Regions from separate parts of the Homo sapiens genome. Here regions 1, 3, 4, 5 and 6 are each linked to region 2. The links are contacts of gene promoters, found by promoter capture Hi-C in blood cells and fetal thymus (Javierre and others, 2016). All regions are on one chromosome and are shown on one strand. The core of a region is centred on a gene start or on the middle of the fragment in contact, and the rest is flanking DNA. Distances in the headings are between cores, read along the strand shown.

Region 1 (2,700 bases), core at 189-2,688, 6.3 Mb before region 2:
GAGAAGGGGATCTTTAGTATACTTGGCATAAGTGAAAATCTAGGAAAGATGGTATCTGGGTTGTTTTCTGTATTCAAAGGACATTGCAGAATATATACCACTTAACGGAATAATTAGATGAGCTTTAGCAACTACTTATTAAAAGAGGTGAATATTTAGTGCATGGCACCCAAAGGAGGAAAGAACTGAAGAGATTTTCATTGTACAAAGAGCAGAAACAGAATCTGCTCAAAAGAACTGTAGAAGCCGGTTGAAAAAATGTTAAACAATGAGTAATTGTGTAAAAACTTGAGAGTATATGTTTGTCTTTGTGACACATGAAACGTTTCAATTTTAAGCTTACATGGGATTTTTAAGTGAGAGGAAGAAACAGATCCTGGTATACATAGGTGGGGAAACTTACAGATATGAAAACATTTTGATAAAAAGCTAACTTGATTGGTACAGAGCTAAAAAGGTGTGTAAAACAGGCTTTTTAAAAAACTTACATTTAGGTTATAATTTTTGCCTAGATTAATATTTGGGTCTCCTCTCCCCTAGATGCAATATAAGTGACCAACTTTGCTGGTGTTTCCTGCCTACCCATCTCCCACATTCTTTTACATGAGAACTAGACAGAGAATCAATGATAATTGATTTTGTTACTTAACCTAGGTAGCCTTAACATCATAACATTTCTTTCTGCATTTTAAGTCTAGTGATAGATATTCAGTGAATGATTCTCATTAATGAGCTAACTAATAATCATTGTTGAAAGCATGTAATTGCAGTAATGCAGTAGTGTTAAATGTTTATGATTTGCTTTCTTTTTGTAGAACACAAAGTAATTATAGTGGGACTGGATAATGCAGGGAAAACCACCATTCTTTACCAATTGTAAGTATGGGTGTTTATTAAACAGTTTTCACTAGTTATTGAAACTAATGTGTTTACAATTAATAAGAGATGCATTATAATAATGACGGAAAAACTTAAATATATGTTTTTTGTTTTTTGTTTTTTTAATTTTACCGAACACAATCTATAGAAAAGTGAGTGAAATAAACATTTGCTAAACCCTTCACAAACACTTATTGTTTTCTGCCCTCGAAAGAAAGAAATTAATATTAAATAAATAAAGCGCATATTAGAAGTGCTGGGGTGAGGTGATAAAGTGGATTTCACTTAGTTCTTACCCCACTTGGGTTTATGTAAATAAATTGATAGCTCTAGGAAGCCATTGCTACCCTCCTGACTAATAGCTTTGGAATTTTTTAACATAGCCAGACTTGTCAAAAGAAATGTGATCACTCCTGAAAATATTGCTGTAGTAGCTTGCAAGAGGGAGAGTCTTGAGACTTTCAGAGAAATCTGTTAATACCTTAGGAAATTTTCACAGCTCATCATTCCACTTGTCAGAGTACCTTCCATTATCCTTTCAATGCCAATGAAATGATAGTATTAAGCAGTAGAAGTGGATCTACCAGGCACTTTAACAAAATAGTTCTACAGTTCTTTGCCCCATTGTGTGGCTCTTACCTCTTCCCACTCATGTTGCATTAGAAGACAGCCATCAGCTCACCAGAAGTACTTCATTAGCCAGTGATTAACGCATTTTTCAGCTACTTTGCTAAAAAGCTACTGACTTAAAGTTTGTTGTTTCAGAGTTGAACAACTACTTGTTTCTCTTGAAAACATTTTCATTCATTGGTGATTATGTGTTTAAATATGAATTAGCTTTTAAACATCACATATAAACATTTCAGAAACCTGTCATCTTTGTTGAAATAATTTTACACATGGCTTCAAAAATATACATAAAACCCAAGAGAATTGCAAGCCTCCTCCAACACAGTAGTGACATGTTACTGGCAAGGGCATATTTGTTGAATTAATTGATTAATGTAGCTTTACCAATGATTATGATAATACGAGGGGTATGAGCATCAGTATTCTAAATATATATATATATATATACACACACACACAAACACACACACACACATATTTGAGACAGAGTTTTGCTCTGTTTCTAAGGGTGGAGTGCAATGGCGTGATCTCCACCTCCCAGGTTCAGGCGGTTCTCCTGCCTCAGCTTCCAGAGTAGCTGGGATTACAAGCGCCCACCACCACGCCCTGCAAATTTTTGTATTTTTAGTAGAGACGAGGCTTCACCATGTTGGTCAGGATGGTCTCAAGTTCTTGACCTCAGGTGATCCACCCAAAGTGCTAGAATTATAGGTGTGAGCCACCACACCTGGCCTTCTAAATATATCTATAGTTAATTTAAATTTTTACTTGCCCATGGTCATCTTTTTAGGACTACTTTAGATTAATATGCCTGAATTAATTTTTGTGACTAAGTCTCAATTTAGACAGTCTTCAAAATTATAGATAGCCTGCTATCCAATATTTGCTATTTTGCAATCACCTAGAAACTTGCTTTTCAGGATGGCATGGGACATTGGGTCTTATCTAACTGATAACAGGGCATGGTGGTATTGGAATTTTTGGCCACAGAAATGCAAATTCACACCACACTGTTTCCTTTCTTTTCCATCAAGCTTGCAATTCCTTCCGTTAAAAAAAAAAACAAACAAGAAACAAGTCTTTCTTCTGGAGTTGTTATCTAGATATTGATTTGCGCAAGTGTTCTCCAGGTTTATAATTTTCATGCTAATGATCACCATCATTGGTGCAGAAGGTTGATTGATCTTAAAA
Region 2 (2,700 bases), core at 149-2,648:
AGTCTCTAGATGTTGATATGCTAATGGAGATGTAATACAGTTACTGCTCTAATTTAAACCAGATACTTAAAATTGAAGAAGCTGCCTACTTGTTGAAGCTATTACCCTAATACTAGTAAAAATAATTGACCATTAGATCTAAAAGGGGCCTTGGATATTATCTGGTACATTTATCTCACAGATCAGTAAACAAATGAAACTTTATTCTAAAGTTCACAAAGACAATTAATTGCTAGGCCCGATTTTTAGTCCAGTCCTTTTCAAATGTGGTTTTGACTTGCATACGGACAAGGATGATGGTAAAAGACAGGAAACATTTCAAGTCCTAGGAGAAATGAGATTTTCTCCACTACTTTCTTTGCTCCCCACAGATTTAAGTAAGTTCTAAGAAGTCCCTACAGATGGGAGTAACTGAAGTGCTTCCTTTGCACGTTTTTGAGATTTGGAGAATTTAAGAGGTTCTAAGACCTATGTAAAATTTCAACTCAATTACATATTTTTTGGTTCATTATCTATCCACCAATTCTTCCTTCCATTTAAACCATTAGATCTGAAAAAGTCCTTAGAAACTGCCTAATAGTGGTAGATATTTCGTTTCACTGATCAAAAACCTGAGGCTCAAAAGCAAATGTAAATTTATATTTCATAAAAATCTTGGGGGAAAAGTCCTATCCTATCCCATTAGAGAGGGAGTAGTGCAGTTAGAAATACAACACCGAACTCCTGAAACCAAACATCAAGTATCCTTAAACAAGATAATAGAATTGTGATTTTTTTCTTTTCAACATGAAACTTCATACTATGCTGTATATCACATATAATTAAATTACACAATAATCACATACCGTATTAATAAGAGGTTAAGTGTAATATAATAAAATGGTCATCTCACAGCGCCAGACTGCCCTCTCTGTAAAACTGTGAGATGCTGAATACCTAGATATTTCGACCTTTTCTCTAACAAGTTATCCTCCAAGGCTACTTCATCGAGGCAAAAATACATTTTATTTATTATTAAAAATTCCAGTATATGTATGCTTAATTAATACTGAGTATTCCCCATTCTTGTTTCAAGTGATAGTCTTTGCTTATCCACATACCTAGGAGGCTGGGGAGGCTCCTTCAAGTCACTGGGTATGAGGTTATAAATGCACTCAGAAGAGCACGTTGGATCCATGGCCACCAAATGACTCCTTAAAAGCTACTCTCCACAACTTTTTTCTCCCTGTCCCAGTATCTCCGTCCCTTTCTTCACTGCTTCCCCTTTCTTTCTTCTTCGCCTTCTGAAGGACCACAGGTTCTCTCCTTCACATCGTCCCCCTTTAACCCCCTCTTAGCAGTCCTCTCTCGGGAAGAAAACACCCTATTTCTCTCCGGATTGCTAAGCGTCGTTGACTGTGCGGTTGCCGTGGAAACCGTTACTAGGCAACGAGGAAGTGGCAGGCAGCACCGCAAACTAGGTCTCCCCTCTTCCCTCTTTCTGCAGCGCCTTCTGCTAGAGAAGCTCATTTGGAAGCCACTGTTTTTACGTGCCTTTGAAAGTTAACGGGGTGAAAATGATGTCCCCTTAAAAACTGTGCTCTTTTCTATTTCTGTGTATCTGGGGAAAAAAGAAAAATCCTAGTAGAGACGGCAAAGCGCAGCTGGTGCGCAGGCGTCACCCAATAAGGTTTTTGTGAGCAGGCCCCAATCGCGGTGTGGGCGGAGCGAGCGGCTGAGACCACGAGGACGCAAGGCCAGCGCCGCCAGGGAGACGAGGGAGGGGAGGAGCCTGAGGAGATCGGAGTGCTCGGATAGGCTACAGTGAGAAAGGAGAGTCACGTGCCCTGCGCGAGGCCGCTCGGGGAAGGGCGTGGAGCGGAGGCACGCTGGCCGCCGCAGGCACAGGCGCAGAGTCCACTGCGCGGGGGCGGGACCGGGGAGCTAGCTGCAGGTACGGTGCTCCGTCTCCTGTGGAGGCTTTAGCGGCTCGTGGACACTGCTCCCCCATTTCCTTTCATTTCCCCCGTCTTCTCAGTGAGATTTCCTTGGTGAGTTATTGGAGGAGAAAGGAAGGAAAACTAGAAGCCAGCCCGCTCCCATCGCATGCCTTTCCCCGTACCGTCCCTTCCCCTTTCCGCTACTCGCTGGTCATCTCAACTCTGCGCGCATTTTTCCTGCTGCTTCTGGTCGAGGCTCCTCGGAACGCCGCGCAGCCCTGCCCGCCACGTGTGTGAGTGCGCGCACGGGGCCCGCGGCCTCCTCCGCCTGCTGCGCTCGCCCTCCCGCCCCTGCTCCCGGGACCGCCCCTTGGGCGGTCCTCCGGGTCGGCTCTGCGCCTGCTCTTCCCCGGGTCGGGACTCTTCCTCTAGGTCGTTCTCCAGGAACCAGTGGACCTGCTCTTTGTAAATGAGCAGCCTAAACTAAGAGGAGAAGCCTTTTAAGTGGGCCTTTACGTTTTTGTCCAGTTTTTGGTGTCCCTTGTTGGAAAATTGTCTTCTGAGAAGCGGTTTTATTCCTTTTTGTTCCACCTGGTCACCCGTAAATCTATGCACATGGGCCTGCCGTAGGAAAGTCATTTAGACGCTTTTACCCGAGTGTTTAAAAGACATTTTGGTAATAGGATTTGGGGAGGAAGATGGATGCCTCTGAACCACCGGTACAGAGGCCACTCTGCCCGAAGGAAATAAAGCTTCCCGGAGAGGAGAGAAAACACACTTG
Region 3 (2,700 bases), core at 28-2,527, 6.4 Mb before region 2:
AGTAGTGCTGCTATGAACATTCATGCTGGAGAATTTATATGAACATATGTTTTCATTTATTTGGAGTATATACCTAGGAGTGGAATTGCTGGGTTTTAGAGTATGATTAACTTTTTAAGATACCACCAATGTTCCAAAGAGATCATATTATTTACATTTCAACCTACAATGTTTGAAGATTCCAGCTTCTCCATATTGTCACCAGCCTAATTAAATTTTATATTATTAAATTTCAGGCCAGGCACGGAGATATATGGGATTCACGCGTGTAATCCCAACATTTTGGGAAGCCAAGGCACGCAGATCACTTGAAGTTAGGAGTTCGAGACCAGCCTGGCCAACATGGTGAAATCCCATCTGTGCTAAGAATATCAAAATTAGCCGAGCATTGTGGCGAGTGCATATAATCCCAGCTACTCGGGAGGCTAAGCCAGGAGAATCGCTTGAACCTGGGAGGCAGAGGTTGCAGTGAGCCAAGATCGCACCACTGCACTCCAGCCTGAGCAACAGAGCGAGACTCCATCTAAAAAATAATGATAATAATAATTCAATATGTGGTGCACAGATATTGGGGAGAAAACACTTACTTTTATATCATCCTATTCAGGACATCTCTTTAGGACACGTGAACTTTTCAACGTGAAAGGAAAAAGAAATCCACAGCCTAAAACCTCCTCCAAGTACACTTTCTTACTAGAATCGGGTACTGCTTTACCATTGGTTTCCTATCTAGTGACTCTGACCGAAGCTTCCCTGTCCAACGTTAACCTTCAAAGAAAGGGACCCAAAGTCCAGAGTGACTGATCCTAGCCCATGGGATCTTGTATATCCAGACTAGGATGCTAAAATATCCAGGTTCTGGAAATCATTTGTTGTGGAAAAAAAAAATAATAAAGCCAGGCACAAGGCCTCACGCCTGTAATCCCAGCAGTTTGGGAGGCCAAGGTGGGCAGATCACAGGGTCAGGAGTTCGAGACCAGCCTAGCCAATATGGTGAAACCCCATCTCTACTAAAAATACAAAAATGTAGCAGGCGTCTGTAGTCCCAGCTACTTGGGAGGTTGAGGCAGGAGAATCGCTTGAACACAGGAAGCAGAGGTTGCAGTGAGCCAAGATCGTGCCACCGCACTGCAGCCTGGGCGACAGAGTGAGACTCCCTCTCAAAACAAAACAAAAAAAATCTGGATCTGAGTTATGGATACTTCCAGTGGGCCTCAGAACAGTTTCCTTTTTATTAGCTGAAAACATACACATGGTTATGGAAAAGTAATGATTTTAGTTGCTTAGGGCAACTACTTATGTTTTATACCTGTCATTACTCTCAATAAGATTATCACTATCAATAAAAATCAGATTAATTTTTAAAAAATCTTATTTAATTATTATACTAAGGTTTGGTCTCATACACTGAGATGCCATAGCTGGTTCTTCTAATAACATGGTTGTCTATTCACAACTTGGTACTTATAGTTGTTCTTAAATAGAGTATGACAAAGAGTCCATAAATGTAATAGAGAGATTTTTTAAAAGGGGATAAGTGACTCAGTGATAATTTTCTGAAATTTTCTAAATAACTAAATACAGCTTGTGATTGACAAATGGAAACCCTTTAATCATGGTTGCCTCTCGCTTTTAACTCAGACACAAATAAGGCAGAAATGAGTCTGCTGACACCCACGTTACATGTTACCAGTCAGTGAATAACTACAGTATACAATTTATGTGGTACCTCTCAGCATCTATTCTTCTACATCCTACATTGCTTTTGAGGTAAATTTCAGTGTACAGTGTATGAAACACCTAAGGCAAAGCTTTCAAAAGCAAAAGAGTATATACAAGATAACTCAAAAAAATATAAACAAGATAACTCATACTTTCTGCTTAGAAGTCATAAATGCCATTTTATAATATTGTTTTCATCTGTAAGAGGAATATTTTGCCAAAACTATTTTATTGGTTGGGTAAAAAAAGTCTCATGCTGTTTTACATTGAAAATAGATTCAGATTCATCATCTTAATTTCCTGGTTTTATAAAACATAAGGCGCTCAACACCTTGTTTTTTTTTTTTTTTTTTTTTTTTTTTGAGACAGAGTCTCATTCCATCGCCCAGGCTGGAGTGCAGTCATGCAATTTCGGCTCACTGCAACCTCCACCTCCCGGGTTCAAGGGATTACTCGTGCCTCAGCCTCCCAAGTAGCTGAGATCACAGGCATGTGCCATCATGCCCGAATAATTTTTTTATATGTTTTAGTAGAGACAGGGTTTCGCCATACTGGCCAGGCTGGTCCCAAAGTCCTGGCCTCATGTGATCCACCTGCTTCAGCCTCCCAAAATGCTGCGATTACAGGCATGAGCCACCACGCCTGGCCCAACATCTATTTTTTTATGTCAATTAACAATATAATCTCACAGGTACTTAGTATGTACCTCCTTACCCCTGGGCTTATTATCTCAGCTATACCATCTGTCCTCCTGGTCATTATATGCTACTTATCACAAAGCCACAGGTTTTTAAGGTTAGACTGGACTTCTTCACATGTATTTTAATGATGAAGCTACTAAGGCCCAGTTTAATGCGGCCCAGAGGGGTTTAATGAGCTATTTTAGTCACCAAAAATGAATAAATTTAGAATCAGAAGTACTAGGTTCAAGTTCTAGCATTACCACCTAGGATAACTTTGAAGAATTTACCATTCATG
Region 4 (2,700 bases), core at 141-2,640, 8.2 Mb before region 2:
CAGACACCAGCTCGGTGTCTTACAGTTTAACTTAATTCTGACACTGTCTACCTCAACTTATAGTCAAATCCCACAAGTTAAGGGTTCATTTCCACAAGACTTTAGGTTGACTGTCACCTACACTTCTGACTGACCAGCTATAAATCAGGGTTCCCACACCCCCTTCTCAGGTTTGATTAATTTGCTAGGATGATGGTTAGCCTGTCCAGGGTCCTGATTGCTAGCAGTGAAACTTCATGGTGACACAATTTGGAATCAGGAAACTTATCCCTTGGCCACTAGATCTGGGAAGTTGGCTCAATGTATGTTTCACCAGATAAGAATATTAAGGTTTTTGCCTCAGGACTGGCTCAGGAAATCAAGCAAGATGGAGCTGGGAAGTGTGCTTTGTGAAGCTGGGAGACATCAGCTGATAGTCTTGTATGGCTGTCTTGTTCTCTGCTTTATCCTCAGTGCGCTGAGTACGTATCACATAGCTGATGCTCAATAAACATTTGGAAACAAGTGAATTAAATGTAAAGCAGAACCAGAGGATATACGGTGGGTCTTACGAATGAGAGTACAGTTGACTCTTTTCTCCTTCTTCCAGCTGAATTACTCAAAAACTGAATTACTCAATAACTACTTCCCTTGGCTATACACGAAAATGTCATGCTCCCAAGCCTGACCATCCCTAACCCACTAAAAAATCACTGCTTATTTCCTAGATGCCCAGCCTGGAAGATTTTGTAAAGCTTCATTTTGTCTCTTTTTTTCTGTATTTTTAATTTTAAAATTACATAATAATATTGACTATGCTTTCCTCAATTTCAGGTACACACTTCCCAGATATTCCAATATGCCTCCTAGAAAAGCATGCCCTTCTGAGTGGAAATGATACCGTTACTCTAATGATGCAGTCCATGCTCTAAGCATCATTTTTTTGACAGTGACATCATGTTAATCTTTCTTTCAGAAAAGTACTATGTCATTTCATGTTATTGTTAAACTTTCCCTGTATTCTGTACTTTTGCAATTCATTTTTTGATAAAAGAGGAAGATCTTATATCTGTCACATTTCGTCTGTTACAATTGGCCCATTGTTGTAGCTTATCAAGACCTTTTGGATTTGATGGTGTTACTTATCGCATTCACTGTCCTTTCCAATGTAATTGTCACCCATAAAGTTGATATGTCTATCCATAATACAAAAAGGGAGCAGGAATTGTTGTTGTTGTTGTTTGTTTTTTTGAGATGGAGTCTCATTCTGTAACCCACACTGGAGTGAAGTGGCGCGATGTTGGCTCACTGAAACCTCCGCCTCCTAGGTTCAAGTGATTGTCCAGCCTCAGCCTCCTGAGTAGCTGAATTTTCAAGGTTAGAGTATTTTATTTCTGTGGCTCCATACTCTGTCCAGAAATAATTATCTGCCATTTGAGTATTAGAGTAAGATGAAGTTACATTCCTCAGCTTCTCTCATTCACATGGTCTTTTGTTAATAACCCTTGATTTTGCATAATTAACATAAAGCAAATCTCCTTTGTAAAGGCTTCCGCTTTTCTAGAGGCACTGAAAAACTTTATAAAAGCATTGAATTTTCTTATGAAAAGGAAGCTAATAACTACCTCACTTAGTTACATGTCTGGCAGCATTGGAGATAAGGATGTGCTACTGAACTTTCTACTTCTTGTTAAGTGGCAAACCATATTGTTTATTTATAACTTAACATATTGTGTTAAGGAATAGGCAATGGTGGTGCTTATGGAAACTTTGTACTCCTGAGCGTAAATACATAATAGAGTTTGGATATTTGTCCCTGCTCAAATCTCATGTTGAGTTATAAAAGCCAGTGTTGGAGATCGGCCTGGTGGGAGGTGTTTAGATCGTGGGGGTAGATCCCTCATGAATGGCTTGGGCCATACCCTTGGTGATAAGTGAGCTCTTGCTCTGAGTTCACATGAGAGCTGGCCACTTAAAAGTGTGTGGCACCTGTCCCATACTCTCGCTGTCTTGCTCCTGCTTTCACCGTGTGACATGCCTGTTTCCCCTTCGCCTTCCTCCATGATTATAAGCTTCCTGAGGCTGCCCCAGAAGCCAAGCAGATGTCAGCACCATGTTTCCTATAAAGCCTGCAGAGCTGTGAGCAGATTAAACCTCTTTTCTTTATAAGTTACCCAGTCTCGGGTATTTCTTTATAGCAATGCAAGAATGATCTATTACAGAAAATTGGTACCAGGAGTGGGGTTTTGTTATAAAGATACCTGAAAATGTGGAACTGACTTTGGAACAAGATAATGGGTAGAGGTTGGAAGAGTTTGGAAGGCTCAGAAGACATAAAGATGAGGGAAAATTTGGAACTTCTTAGAGACTGTTTAAAAGTTGCAACTAAAATTCTGATAGTGATATGGATAATGAAGTCCAGGCTGCCAAGGTCTTCGATGGTAATGAGGAACTTAGTGGGAACTGGAGCAAAGGTGACACATATTATGCCTTAGCAAAGAACTTGGCTGCATTCTGTCCATGCCCTAGGGATCTGTGGAAGTTTGAACTAAAGAGTGGCAACCTGGGGTATCTGGTGGAAAAAATTTCTAAGCAGCAAAGTGTTCAAGATTTGGGCTGGCTGCTTCTAATAGCATGTGCTCAGATGTGGGAGCAAAGAAATGACTTCGAATTGGAACTTATATTAAAAAGGAAAGCAGAGTGTAAAAATTTGGAAAATTT
Region 5 (2,700 bases), core at 163-2,662, 7.4 Mb before region 2:
ACTCAGAATCCAACTTGTTACACCTGAGTCATTTCCTGATTACTGTAGCAAAGGGTTTCTCAGTAGCAACGTTATTGACGGTTTGGGCCAGGTAAATATCTTTGTCATAGGAGTTTGTCCTGTGCAATGTAGGGTGTTCAGCCTTATCCCTGGCCTTTATCCACTAGATGCCGGTGACACCCAGCCCCCACTCATGATTTTAGAAGTCTCAGGACATTGCTAAATGCCCCCTGGAAGGACAAAATACCTCCCAGTTGAGAACCGCTGCACTAGTCCACTCTAATTTCCACCTTCTTACAAAATCCTCTAACTTATTTTAGCATTTTTGCCTTTACCGAATTATTTAGCATTCAAGATAGTTTTATACTCCTTAATGAGAGGTTGCTACATAGGAGGTGTTTAATAATGTTTGTTGAGTTGAGAATGTGTCAGTTGAGCCTGCCAGACATTATACTTCTTCAGTGTAGCAACATTGTTTTGCTCCAGAAAAGCTTACTTTTTAAAGTTGCTCAGGTTTTGGTATTGGACCAATTCTCTTCTCACAATCCTTGTATTGAAATATTACAAAAGGTTTATCTAAGAAGACCCCTCAGAGATTCCCAGTACATAAGCCTTGCACAGAGTCCAGTAGACTCATATTATTTTTTAATAGTATAACATATAGAATACAGTGTATAGAATACACTTAACAATTTTTTCTTTCACCATATCTACCAATGAATATGTCATAACATTAAAGTAACTCATTTGATACAGTTATTTATCACTTAACACTCGTATACATTTGCACATCTTCAAAATTAATTGTCTTCAGTCTTAATCTGAGGCTGAATCAGAAATTCACTGACTGATTTATATAATATAACATTTTTTATAAAGAGACACAATGCTGGTGATAGCTTTTCCCTTGGAAGAAACACCGAAAGATGTTACTAGAATGTGAGCTCTGTGAGGACAGGGATTTTTGTTTGATTTTTTCACTGCCGTATCCCTAGCTGTAGACCAGTTTTTGGCATGCTGAAGAACTTTCAGTAAACATTTATGGAATAAATGAATCTCATTTTGGACATTATAATTCAAGAGCTGAATTTAGAAGAAACGTAAAGATAACTTATTTCATCAAGTTTGTATTTCAAAGTCTCTAGTGACTTCCACCTTGCCAAATCCAATGGTCACTTTCTAGTCCATTTCTTTTTTGATCTCTTAAGCATTCCTCTTTGATATACAGTATTTTATTCATGGGATTTCAGGACACCAAACTTTTTCTCATTTTCTACTTAGCTCCTTTTAAATTTTTTTGCTTCCCCTTTTTGCAACTTCTAAAAGTTGAGTGCCCTGCGGCTCAGTTCCGGAGCCTCTTCTCTCCTTCCACTTTTTTTTTTCCCTTAGAGTATTAGGAAGCAATTTAGCTTAGTGTTAAGAATTCAGACTGGGGCCACACTGCTTGGATTCAGTCCCAGGTTTGCTGCTTACCGGTAGTGTGATTTTTGGCCTAGTTGCTTAGATAATCTGTGTCTCAGTTTCCTTATCTTTAATATGGAATATAAGAGTAATAATAGTTCTTACCTCAGAGAGTTGTTAAGAGGGTTGAGTTAATATTTGTAAAGCACTTAGAAAAATTTCTGTACTTTTTATTAAGTAAGATTTTAAAAAGAACCTCATCTAATTTCTTAGCTTTAAATACCTAGCGTATTCTGGTGACTCCTGGATTTATGTTCTTACTCTCAGCCTCTTGCCTGAGCTCTCGACCTAGATATCCATCTCCTTACTGAGCATCTCCATTTGGATTCTGCTTAGAGTCTAAAAACAAACATTCAAAAACTCAATTCTTAGTTCTTTGCCCAAACCTGCTCATTCCTTCATCCTTGCCCTTCTCAGTAGACGACAACATGATTACTGTTTCCTGTCACTGAGCTCCAATGTCTAGGAGTATCACTGATTCTTCTTATTTCTTCACACTTCACATTCATCCTATCAGCAAGATATTTTGGCTGTACTTTAAAAATATATCCAGAATTTCATTGACAGGTGAAACTAGCTGGACTTCCTGGGTCAAGTGGGGACTTGGAGAACTTTTCGGTCTTACAAGGGGATTGTAAAATGCACCGATCAGTGCTCTGTAAAAACGCACCAATCAGTGCTCTGTAGCTAGCTGGAGGTTTGTAAAATGCACCAATCAGTGCTCTGTAGCTAGCTAGAGGTTTGTAAAATGGACCAATTAGCACTCTGTAAAATGAACCAATCAGCAGGACATGGGCGGGGACAAATAAGAGAATAAAAGCTGGGCACCCTAGCCAGCAGCAGCAACCGGCTCGGGTCCCCTTCCATGCTGTGGAAGCTTTGTTCTTTCACTCTGCACAATAAATCTTGGTGCTGCTCACTCTTTGGGTCCGTGCTACCTTTAAGAGCTGTAACACTCACCACAAAGGTCCGTGGCTTCATTCTTGACGTCAGCGAGACCACAAACCCACCAGAGGGAACAAACTCCGGACACATCATCACCTTTTTCTGTCTCACCATTCTTACCTTACTTCAGTCATTGTTATCTCTTATAGTCAGTGGCAAGAGCCTTCTGGTAGGTTTCTTTGTTACCACTCTTGCCTCTACAATCAGTTCTCATTTACAAAGGTCAGTGATCTTTTAAAAATGTTAGATAATGTCAGTTACCTGCTCAGAGTTCTCTGGTAGCTTCCTATCCTA
Region 6 (2,700 bases), core at 43-2,542, 7.8 Mb before region 2:
AATCTTTCAGACAGGTTTGTAGACTCTCTTCCCACTCGCAGCCGCCTGACCCCACCCAACACAACCCACGAGCAATTCTAAAAGTTGCTTAACTCACGTCTAAAAAGTGCAAAACTTCAGGGCTGCGCGTAAAGCCCTCTAGTGGCGGGAAGACCACAGGTTGGAGCTTCTCATGATTAGAAAAATATTAATAAAACCCCTTGAGCGATTTTTTTTTTTTTTTTGAGACGGAGTCTTACTCTGTCGCCCAGGCTGGAGTGCAGTGGCGAGATCTTGGCTCACTGCATCCTCCGCCTCCCGGGTTCAAGCGATCCTTGAATGATTTCTAAGCAGTTCCTTGGGACATAAAGAAAAATCTTTTAACTTTTTACTTTGTTTCCCAAATGTTGCACAGTTTTGCAACACATTGACCTTCTGGTTTCGAACGGTTACAATTTTAGATTGTGGTTTGCCAAAGTCAAGTTGCTTAATTTTTACAAGGCCACAAAAAGCGCAATTATGCCCTGCAGTTTAAAATGGAAAACGTGTTGGAAGATAAGAAAACTTAGTTTCCAACTGGAATGGAGCCAGCAAGTTTCTTTTCTTCTTTGCAAATTCTATTGTGTCATTAAAGTTCGATGGAAGTATCACTATGCACAACTATTTTGTGATCTAATAAGGGTGAAAAGGAGCCATCTGTCCCCTTGGCTAAGGGGTATTAATGGTTTCTATGGGCTTCACTATGGAATGTAGATACAGACATTCTGGCAAATGTGGTGGCTCTGGACAGAAATAATAGGAGTCTTTGTATTCCCAGGGAAGCTTTGCAACAGGCTACATTCTTACTGAATATGTAATGATGTAAGCACGGTTCTAATTGGACACAAGTATTTGCTAACATCCGTTATCTAATATCTGGCCCAGACTTGAGAAGTAGGTAATGTAAAAAGTTTTTAAAGCTACAAGCATACCTCACATTTTAAAAGTCCTTTCTTGATTGGGTTCTTGTGTTCTTTAGCACTCTTGCCATAAAAAATAATAACAGTAATAAACCCAAGGCTGAAAAACTGAATTTTAACTAAAGGGTTTTTGTGCGTGTTTTTTTTTTTTTTCACCAAAATTAGATGGACTTACAGAATTTTTAACTTAAAATTGGAATCCAAAAGCCAGAAGATCCCCATTATAGTTTATAGTTGTATTCCCTGGAATATTTACTGGGATTAACTGCAAAGCACTCTCAGATGAATAGTGTAGTATAACATTTTGAAACTGAAATACATTTACCAAATTAATTTAACCACAGCAATGTGTGTGGTTCATTTTAGTCCTTGAGCATTTTTGATTATCATACCTGTCATGTTTTCTGCAGTGTAGTGAGTTAACATAAAACAACATCAATACAAAAGATCCTCTGTTTCGAGATTAAGCAAAATTCCTCATTCTCTTCAATGTGATAGAATACCACATTGATCTTTCTTTGGAGGTTAGTAAAATATCTTTTATGTATTTTTCAGGGCTTAACAAGTAAAAATCAATGTTTTCATCAAGTCTGATCTTTTTGTCACCCACTCTTCATTCATTTTTCCACTAAGGTGATAGAAAAGTCTCAACAGTTTAAGACCGTAAGGCTATGAACTCCAAATATAATTGCTGACAAGATAAGCAATCCTCACGCATCCTTTTGAGAGGAAATAAAATCTTAGTTGCAAGATTACATATTCTGATTTGGAATGCTGAGCTTTTTAAATGGAAATATAGAAGGACGGCTGAATCAGCAAAAATCCTTTATGTAGTTTCATTCTTTGCAAGCTTGACCAGTCATTCTGAAACAGGCTAACTGAACTGATACAGTGGCAAGTGAAAAAGACATGCCTTTACAGGATGAGTCAAAGGAGTTTTAGAAGAAAAATCCACCAGAGAAAGCCAAGCAAATACAGTTCAGAGTTACATTTCTTTTCCATTTTTTCCTGAACTGAATCTTTGGCATGCATATCCTGAATTGGGTTATTGAATATAAATCTAGCCTTGTACAATGGATGCCAGATGACTACATATTTGCTTTGGAGCCTAAGGATAAGTTTCAAAAGATTTGAGTGGAGAAGAAAAGCTAAAACTCTTGAAGCACAAGTTTCTGTTCTCCATGTACTCAAGTGTACATGAAGTTGTGAAAATTTGTCCACCTCTATCATCATGTTATTCCATGAAATTACAAAACAAATCTTAAAAATGTTGTGGCATAGATTTTCTAGATTTAAAAAGTAATTAAATTAAATGAATTACTTTATTTTTTGAGACAGAGTGTCACTCTGTTGCCCAGGCTGGAGTGCAGTGGCACTATGTTGGCTCACTGCAACCTCTGCCTCCTGGGTTGAAGAAATTCTCCTGCCTCAACCTCCCAAGTAGCTGGGACTACAGGCATGTGCCACCACACCCAGCTAATTTTTGTATTTTTGGTAGAGACGGGGTTTCGCCATGTTGGCTAGGCTGGTCTCGAACTCCTGACCTCAAGTGATCCACCCGTCTCAGCCTCCCAAAGTGCTGGGATTACAGGCATAAGCCACCATGACCAGCCTTAAAAAGTAATTTTAAAATATCACTGGTAAAATGTGGATTCAGTCATGATTGAGTGCAGTTTACCATGTGTGTGGACATTTATTTATTTTAAAATTGTCTGATCACCACCTTGAGTAAAACACAAGCAGTCACAATTAAAATATATTA

What was found. The method cuts DNA at HindIII sites, captures the fragments that hold promoters and counts their contacts. A CHiCAGO score of 5 or more calls a contact.
Region 1: a contact is called between a fragment that was not itself captured here and the fragment with the promoter of ENKUR in region 2, in 1 of 17 cell types (total CD4 T cells). The highest score is 11.8, in total CD4 T cells.
Region 3: a contact is called between a fragment that was not itself captured here and the fragment with the promoter of ENKUR in region 2, in 1 of 17 cell types (monocytes). The highest score is 5.1, in monocytes.
Region 4: a fragment that was not itself captured here is called in contact with the fragment with the promoter of ENKUR in region 2 in 1 of 17 cell types (total B cells); the score reaches 5.2 in total B cells.
Region 5: a fragment that was not itself captured here is called in contact with the fragment with the promoter of ENKUR in region 2 in 1 of 17 cell types (naive CD8 T cells); the score reaches 6.1 in naive CD8 T cells.
Region 6: a contact is called between a fragment that was not itself captured here and the fragment with the promoter of ENKUR in region 2, in 1 of 17 cell types (total B cells). The highest score is 5.1, in total B cells.

The regions. Positions count from the first base shown.
Region 1 is chr10:18,665,760-18,668,459 of GRCh38, forward strand. ARL5B (ARF like GTPase 5B) reads left to right here. Exons shown (of 6, transcript NM_178815.5): 2 at 816-876. Among named protein-coding and RNA genes, the nearest start is that of ARL5B, 7.7 kb to the left of the region's middle. The HindIII fragment of the contact is 2,205 bases long and covers 337-2,541 here.
Region 2 is chr10:25,014,760-25,017,459 of GRCh38, forward strand. ENKUR (enkurin, TRPC channel interacting protein) reads right to left here and starts at 1,399. Exons shown (of 6, transcript NM_145010.4): 1 at 1,101-1,399. The coding sequence starts at 1,177. It overlaps THNSL1 (threonine synthase like 1), which reads left to right and starts at 1,853. Exons shown (of 3, transcript NM_024838.5): 1 at 1,853-1,933. RefSeq lists silencers at 1,405-1,454, 1,785-1,984, 2,165-2,244 and enhancers at 1,528-2,290, 1,601-1,895, 2,495-2,574. The HindIII fragment of the contact is 2,880 bases long and covers 1-2,669 here.
Region 3 is chr10:18,645,669-18,648,368 of GRCh38, forward strand. The region is part of intron 2 of NSUN6 (NOP2/Sun RNA methyltransferase 6); the gene reads right to left. Among named protein-coding and RNA genes, the nearest start is that of NSUN6, 4.6 kb to the right of the region's middle. The HindIII fragment of the contact is 1,063 bases long and covers 747-1,809 here.
Region 4 is chr10:16,820,015-16,822,714 of GRCh38, forward strand. LOC105376435 (a long non-coding RNA gene) reads left to right here. Exons shown (of 3, transcript XR_930708.3): 3 at 814-1,243. Among named protein-coding and RNA genes, the nearest start is that of RSU1, 3.9 kb to the left of the region's middle. The HindIII fragment of the contact is 1,317 bases long and covers 733-2,049 here.
Region 5 is chr10:17,646,133-17,648,832 of GRCh38, forward strand. The region is part of intron 1 of STAM (signal transducing adaptor molecule); the gene reads left to right. Among named protein-coding and RNA genes, the nearest start is that of STAM, 3.3 kb to the left of the region's middle. The HindIII fragment of the contact is 1,847 bases long and covers 490-2,336 here.
Region 6 is chr10:17,230,697-17,233,396 of GRCh38, forward strand. VIM (vimentin) reads left to right here. Exons shown (of 10, transcript NM_003380.5): 3 at 1-14. Among named protein-coding and RNA genes, the nearest start is that of VIM-AS1, 2.1 kb to the left of the region's middle. The HindIII fragment of the contact is 987 bases long and covers 800-1,786 here.